Regions from separate parts of the Homo sapiens genome. Here region 1 is linked to region 2. The links are contacts of gene promoters, found by promoter capture Hi-C in blood cells and fetal thymus (Javierre and others, 2016). All regions are on one chromosome and are shown on one strand. The core of a region is centred on a gene start or on the middle of the fragment in contact, and the rest is flanking DNA. Distances in the headings are between cores, read along the strand shown. Region 1 overlaps RSBN1 (round spermatid basic protein 1). Region 2 holds the start of ST7L (suppression of tumorigenicity 7 like).

The links. Contacts are between HindIII fragments. The CHiCAGO score rates a contact against its expected background, and 5 or more counts as called.
Region 1: a contact is called between a fragment that was not itself captured here and the fragment with the promoter of ST7L in region 2, in 1 of 17 cell types (naive CD4 T cells). The highest score is 6.9, in naive CD4 T cells.

What each region holds. Positions count from the first base shown.
Region 1 is chr1:113,781,155-113,785,011 of GRCh38, forward strand. The region is part of intron 2 of RSBN1 (round spermatid basic protein 1); the gene reads right to left. Among named protein-coding and RNA genes, the nearest start is that of PHTF1, 24 kb to the left of the region's middle. The HindIII fragment of the contact is 4,937 bases long and covers 1-3,857 here.
Region 2 is chr1:112,617,285-112,621,496 of GRCh38, forward strand. ST7L (suppression of tumorigenicity 7 like) reads right to left here and starts at 1,857. Exons shown (of 15, transcript NM_017744.5): 1 at 1,625-1,857. The coding sequence starts at 1,829. CAPZA1 (capping actin protein of muscle Z-line subunit alpha 1) reads left to right here and starts at 2,548. Exons shown (of 10, transcript NM_006135.3): 1 at 2,548-2,599. The coding sequence starts at 2,561. RefSeq lists enhancers at 1,821-1,920, 2,029-3,228, 2,381-2,830. The HindIII fragment of the contact is 828 bases long and covers 1,353-2,180 here.

The sequences.
Region 1 (3,857 bases), core at 714-3,213, 1.2 Mb after region 2:
TTTCATCATTTAAGCCCATTTTAAAATTGACTATCCTGCAACTTGCCATCAAAAGCACCAAGATATATATACCTTTTTCACATAAGAATCCTACTTCTGTAATACTAGTCTGTAGTACCTGTCTCTATTGCCTCACCTCACCTTTTATTCACATCTCATATCATTGCAATCAGGCTTCTGCCCATACCACTCCCCTGAAACAAATCACTGATGACCTCTTCACAACCAAATTCAAGGAATGCTTTGCAATCACCTGCTTTCTTGATTTCCCTTTCCAGGCTTCCTCCTCTCCAAAACGTGGTTGTTGCAGAGTTGGCCCAGTTTTCATTCCACATATTATCTGTGGGTGGTTTCAATTATACTACAGATTTAACTACCACCTGTACCCTACTACATTCCATATCTACATCTCTAACTTAAAACTCTGCCTCAGATTCAGATCTTAACATACAAATGCCTCCTGGGCAGCCCACAGACACCCTCAAATTTAATACCTACAAAACAGAGCTCGTTTTTTTGTAAGGTTCCCTTCCCCTCCCAAACCTTCTTTTTCTCCTTCTGTATGTACTTCGCCGGTTAATAATATTCATTTTCTCAGGTCCTAAATCAGGAATTGATAAATCCCTCTTCCTCATCACTTAAATCAAAATCTATCCTTCTAACTAAATCTGCAGTACCACTGCCTTAATTCAGGAAATTATCATTTCTCACCTAATTGTAAAACCTCTTAACCAGTATCCTTGCTTCAGGATTCCTATCCCCAAGAGCCATCCTACATACTGCTACAAATAATCTAGGAAAAAACATCTTATCATTCAACCTTCCCATTTTAAATCCTTTAGTAGCTCCATATTACCTGTAGCATCAAACTAGAAAATCCTTTTTAAGGAAGACAAAGCCCCTCCTGATCTATTATTCCAAGGGAATAACAGACCAAGATTTGCCACATTCTCCACATTTGCCACATTCTAAATATACATTTCGCAAATTCTAAATAATTTCTGCTGCCTCCACAAGTTTTCACATGTTATTGTCCACCTTTACAACTCCTATATTTCCTTGATGGTATAAAATGACTCAAAATAAGGTTTCAAGCTCAAAGAACGAAAGTACATAACATTTACAGATTTTAGGTAAGTTAGATTTGGAGTTATAACTAGATCAAAAAAGGTAAGGAATAGATGCATAGATTTGGAAATTGTCTATAACATATAATTTTTTAAGTGACTAAGACTTGAGAGAAAGAATAGAAAGAGACAGAACCAAGAACTGCACTTAAAGGAAAACAGATATTTGACAGACAGGAGGAAGAGTTAGCTAAAGAAATTGTGAAAGGATGAGTTAAGAAGTAATGCAATTAAAATGATGTAAGAATAACGTTTCAAAAATGGTCAAGGACAACTATTTTTTAAGAAAAACAAACTGGCTGTTATGAATAGTGCTGCAATAAACATGGAAATGCAGATCTTCAACATACTGATTAAATTTCCTTGAGTTGGACATATACCAAGAAGTGGAATTGCTTGGTCATGTGGTCGTTCTATTTTTAATTTTTTAAGGAACATCCACACTGTTGACCATAATGTCTGTACTAATTTAGATTGACATTAACTGTATAAAAGTTCTCCTTTTTCCATATCCTCACCAGCATTTATTTTTTGTCTTTTTGTTAACAGCCAGAACTGGGGTGAGGTGATATCTAATTGTAGTTCTGACTTCCATTTCCCTGATGATGAATTATGTTGAACATTTTTTCATATACCTGTTGTATGTCTTCAAATTTCAGAATGTCTATTTAGGTCTTTTGCCCACTTTTAAATCAGATTATTTCGTTGTTGTTGTTATTGGGTTGTTTGAATTATTTACATAAATTTTAGGCCACAGGGCAGAAAATACTATCTGGTCCTTAATAGAAAAAGTTTGCCAACCCCCAATTTAAACCACTCACAAAAGAAATCAAGCAATATGTTTGAATACAAACTTTGTGAAAGAGAACAATCTGTATTATTCAATATTATATATCTGTAATACAAAGTGCCTGGTATGTAGTCATAAATATTTGTTGAATTTCTGTATGTTAAGGCTAGAAATGAAGTAATCAACCACAAACTCTGGCAAAAAGAAAAAAAAGGGGTGGAGGGGGAGAAGAAGAACTGCTGATTACCAGTCTATCACTTGCATTTAAAAATTTAATAAATGCAAATGTTTGTGATACATTTAAATAATTAACAGCATAACAATGAACAGCAGTTATGACCACAAATTCAACATGCACCAACTTTCAACCTGAAAAGGCTGACAAGAAAAAAAAAAAGAGAGAAAAAAATAGATAAAACAAAAAAACATTCACCAACTGTAGGAAACTAATGCCAAACAAGCAAAGTATTCCTTCTTTTTAGTAAGAAAATTTCCTGGGCATATGGCCAATAAGCTAGGCTCCCTGACAGCTAAATGCGGCCTGTGCCTAAGTTTGGGCCAATGAGACAGTCACATAAGTTACATATGCAATCTTCAGGGCATACCTTTATAAGGAAGTGGCTTGCCCTCCACTTCCTTTTTCTCTTTTGAGGGCTGCAACACAGAGTGGTAAAGAGCTAGTCTCAATCATGCACATGACAACACCAGTAGGAACGACAAAAATTAAAGACAGAAGGAAACTAGCATCCTGGATGACAACAAGGAACAGAGTTGCTTACCTCGGGACTGCTAAACAAGAGACAAACTTTTGTTCTAGCCACTGCACATTGGTCCTCATTGTTATGGTTTTTTAGCCTATACCTTGTATACTTTGTAATGAGGGAGGCAATATTCTGCATTGCACAGAGATATCATCTGGGGTGTGATCTCCCGATCTGGCCTAAAAAATATCTATAACTAGGGCACACCCAAAATAGAACATTTAAAGTGATTAGGGACTTGCAAACCATACAAAATGGAGGAAGAATGCAAGAAATCAAAAGTATTTCAAAAGTATTTAACTTGAAAAGATTAAAGGAGGGACACAACAGTCTTCAAATACTTGGAGGCCTGTAACATGAGTTACAGGAAAGCAGGTGTCATTCATTTACCACAAGTTTATTGTACAGTCATGTGTCACCTAATGACAGAAATACATTCTGAGAAATGTCATTAGGCAATTTGTGGTTGAGAACATCACAGCTTGTACTTACACAAATCTAAGTGGTATAGCCTACTACACACCTAGGCTATATGACATAGCCTATTGCTCCTAGGCTACAAAACTTACAGCATGTTATTGTACTGAATACTGTAGTCCAGTGGTCCCCAATCTTTTTGGCATGAGGGACTGGTTTTGTGGAAGACAATTTTTCCACGGAAAAGGGCAGGGGGTTGGCAGGCATGGTTCTGGATGAAACTGACCCACCTCAGATCATCAGGCATTAGTCATATTCTCATAAGAAGTGTGCAACCTAGATCCCTCGCATGCACAATTCACAACAGAGTTCACACTCCTATGAGAATCGAATGCTGCAGGTTATCTGACAGGAGGCGGAGCTCAAGCAGCAATGCTATTATAGCTTGCTGCAGCCAGGTTTTTAACAGGCCACAGACCAGTACTGGGGGACCAGTACAGTTGAGGACCCCTGCCGTAGATACCTGAAACACAATGGTAAGTTTTTATGTATCTAAACACATTTAACTTCCCATGCTTGCAGAATAGGGAGTTGTTATGGGTCAGTGAGTGAGTGGTGAGTGAATGTGAAGGCCTAGGACACTGCTGTACACTACTGTAGACTTTATAAACAGTGTACACTTAGGTTACACTGATTTTTAAAATTTTTCTTTCTTCAATAATAAATTAACTTTAGCTTACTGTAATTTTTATAAACTTTATG
Region 2 (4,212 bases), core at 607-3,106:
GTATATCAGCTAGAGAGGCAAAATGGCTCAAAGAGAAAAGCAACAAACAGAAATCTCCCTGAGTTACTGAAATCCTGGAGCAGATTTTTCACTTCAAATAATTATCTCATAAGTACTGTGGGTTTTAGAAAGAAAATAAAAATCTGGCCAGGTAGGATGGCTCACTCCCATAATCTCAGAGTTTTGGGAGGCCAAGGCAGGAGGATCACTGGTAGCCAGAAGTTCAAGACCAGCCTGGGCAAATAAAATAGACCCAGTCTCTACGCAAAATTTAAAACTCAGCCAGTCGTGGTGGTGCACGCCTGCAGTCCCAGCTACTTGGGAGGCTGAGGCCAGAGGATCGCTTAAGCAGAAGAGTTCAAGGCTGCAGTGATCTTGCCACTACACTTCAGCCTGGGTGACAAAGGGAGACTCTGTCTGTCTTTCTCTCTCTCACACACACACACACACACACACACACACACACACACACGAAACGTAAAAAAGAAAAATCTATAGTAATCAACTATTCTCATCTAAATGTTGCATATGGTTAACGTAGAAAAATAAATGACAAGTCAATCAGTAACACTGTGCATAGAAACCACCGTTAAGCACTTCATTCACCTGTTACAGAGATGCCAAATTAGCTCTTCAGTTTAGCTTATTTTAGAGTGCTAGTTATATTTGAACTTGATACCTATCCTCCAAAAAAACCAAAATATTTCCGAACATTAACTCACAGTCTTTCATGTCATCTCTGAACAGGAAAGGGGACATTTGCTGCCTTTTGCTTCAGAAAAATCAACCACCATACTGAATCATGTAATGGAAATACTTATATCTTGTTCTGAGGTTGCTGCTCAGATCTTGAGTGAAATATAATCACATGGTAAGGGGACCTGGGCCCTAAACACTTCATCCTGTCTACAGCTAAAGAATAGTACAGTATATGAGAATCCATCAGGATCATCACTTCTTACATGTGTTCGTATTGTCAGCACAGAATACGTAGCAAGTGTTCTACAGACGTCGAAAGAACTAGCAAACCCACTGTTGTTTGTGGCGCTCTCACTTCCTGTACTATTTTATTACTCAAGATAAGCCTAAAAGAACAGACAAAACTATCACGAAAACGATTTCTTAACAGAACTATTTTAAAACAAGAGAATCCTCAATTAAAATCATGCCATTTTCTTTCTCTGAAATCTTTAAATTACAGATGTGCTCATCTTTGTTGCCTGGATATGAGTTCTTTCAGCTGGGCAGCGGGAGACTCAAAGTAGTGACTTTTAAGGGATCCTACCAGAGGTGGGGGAGCCAATATAAATTACGTATCCTAATCTGAGACACTCTTCTGTCCTAATACCTGAAGCTTATAGCTTGTCAGGTGGCTTTTCCATGGAAAAACGAGGACATAAGAGAGAGGGCGGACCTTAAGAGTTCTACGGAGGAGCCGGTAACGGCAGCAGGCTTGTCAATCAACTGCAAGGTTGCAGCCCAAAAGAAAAAGAACTCACTTGATCGCTCATCATCGACTCCTCAGAGGCCCTCTAGGACTACCGAGAATCTCTTGCCCTTTGGCTCTTGCCCCCGACATCTCTCCTGGCCCCCCGCCCTGCCCCAGGAGGTCTGGTCCTCTCACCCGCTGCCAAATTCTCACACAGCCTCAAAGGGATCCTCAGGGCGTAAAGCAGCCCCAGCCCCGCCACGAACCACAACGAGGCCCCAGTCCCCGCCAGCCCGGCCCGCAGTCGCTCCCTCCAGCCTAGCGTCGGGTTTAGGCCAGGGACAGATGCAGGAGACGCTCCAACAGCTGCGGCTTCACCCACGCCGCCACGGTCCGCCATCTTGCCGCTATCGCAGGCGCCAGGAGCTGGGAGGGGAGAAGGACAGGAAACCGGGAGTCGGGAATCCTGGGATAGTGGCGGACCTGAAGTTGGCCTCTGTGAAGGCTGAGTCCTGGGGAACCGGGACCGAGAAGATTTCGAAGGTGGAGGAGCGTGTCTCAAGATTGGGGCTACCTGTTCTTTCGTGGGGCAGGGAAGGGGCGGACAGCAGCGCCTATTCTGGAGGAACTGGACTGAGATGTGACCCCGAAGTGTTACCGCTTCCAAACGAAATGAGGGTCACCTTTCACACCGCCCCCCCCCCGGGGTTGGAAAAGCCACCGATCGTTCCAGCTGCCGAGCAGCTCTTAAAGCTTTGGATTCGGCTGTCGTGGAGATAACGGGCACCAGAAAAACTTGTAGGAGTAGCAACAGCTATTTGGTCGGATGGAGGCCAGAAGCCAAGAATAATCGAAACACGCTGCCAGCGCCCATTAGATGGATGGGAAATGAGTGTAACTCATTGGGAAAGATATTAGACTTCAAATCACCTAAGGCAAACCCTACTTCCTGGGGCGCGGGCGCGGGCGCTGGCGTTAGGAGACGTCACTCCCGCGCATAACTGACATGGGGCCCTCTTGGTCGGCGTTTCCGGGCGGGTCCTTCCGACGGCCGCCGCGGTGATTCCATCACTCGGCTTTCTTCCCGGCCTGCCTCGCGCCCGTAGCCGGGCTGGGCCAGAACAGCCCAAGATGGCCGACTTCGATGATCGTGTGTCGGATGAGGAGAAGGTAAGGGGTCCGCCTCTCTCTCTTACCTCCTCCCCCGACAGGGAACTGGGGCCCGGCCCGGCTGCGTTGGGAGCCTAGCAGTGTCCCCAGGAAAAAGAAGCTTCTTGGTCCATGCTGACATACGCTCTCCGCAGTCGGGACGCTTCCCTCTTAGGGGGCTTTCCTCTGCCTCACGGTGGCCCCAGTTCCTCGTTCCTCGACTCTCCTTTTCTCTCAGGCCTGAGGCACAGCCCAGGGGCCTCCCTGCAAGGGAACAGACGTTTCCTTTATTGGATCGTGACTGTGGACTTTTTTCTGTAATTTTGCGAGAGGGTGGTGGTTATGTTGCGACATATCAAAAAGCAGTTATTTTACCGCCTTTAGCAGTTGGGGCTCACCCCATCCCCCCATTTGTAGATATAATTGGGGTTAGTTTAGGGCGAGTCACTTCCTGGTCAGGATGGCCTCTTAACTTCCCTTTTGCTCCTCCTTCCTCAGGAAGTGATTTTGCTGTCACGACTCTTCGACAAGGAGAGGTCCCAAATGTTGTCCATCTCCCTACACATGCACTACTTTTCTCCTGTACTGTCGCCTGTCTGATTCGCTATAATAAATCTGTGAGCCTCAGGGCATTTGCTTCAGAATTTGAACACCAGTCTTTCCCTATAGACACATCCCTTTTAACGATAATTTTTGAAAATTTTGTTTCTTGTTAACAAATCTAGAATAGCTGATGGATTTTCTTAACCTCCAGAAAGGTTTTCTGTAACACATAATAAACCTTATGTTAACACGTTCAAGACTGAACAAAGCATCCTGCCTTCTTTGATGCTCCACTGTGGAGTCTTTGATCAGTTGAATTTGTCAGTGTGCATTTTGTATGCTCATTTCTTGAAAAGGGTCTTAAATACAAGAGCACATTCTAAGGTGGAATAACTTTTCTTCTGACAGTTGCACAGTTTCATAACAGTTTGTCAGGCTTTTCAGTAAGTACATGGTTTTAGGGCACGTAGAACTTAGAATGACCTCACAAGGCAACTTATTGGACAAGAATTATGACATTTGTCTCCCACTGTGGCTATTAGAAAATGTGTCCCCTTGAGTGCTCTGTAAATCTACCTGGGTGTTTTTTTCAATAAGAAGTTGGGATGGGAAGGGGACTGTTATGATCCATAAGTCCTCTGTACGGAATAACTTGATATATGTAGATATGGCATGCCATTTTGAAATGTTTAACAAGCCATTGACAACAGCGTTAGATTTTCTCTTATTTGGAAACTGATCTTCATACATGTTTAAGATTTAGGACAAAAACATTTATGTATAAGCCTATGCTGGAAATCGATCTATAATAAATTGTTCTAAGGCAAATAGTTACTATTCAAATAAAATTAAGCAAAAATCCTGTTACAATACAACTAAACAATTTTTTTTTTTTTTTGAGACGGAGTCTCGCTCGGCTCACTGCAACTTCCGCCTCCCTGGTTCAAATTATTCTCCTGCCTCAGCTTCCCGAGTAGCTGGGATTACAGGCACCCGCCACCAAGTCCAGCTAATTTTTGTATTTCTTGTAGAGAGTGGGTTTCGTCTTGTTGCCCAGGCCGGTCTCAAACTCTTGGGCTCAAACGATCCAT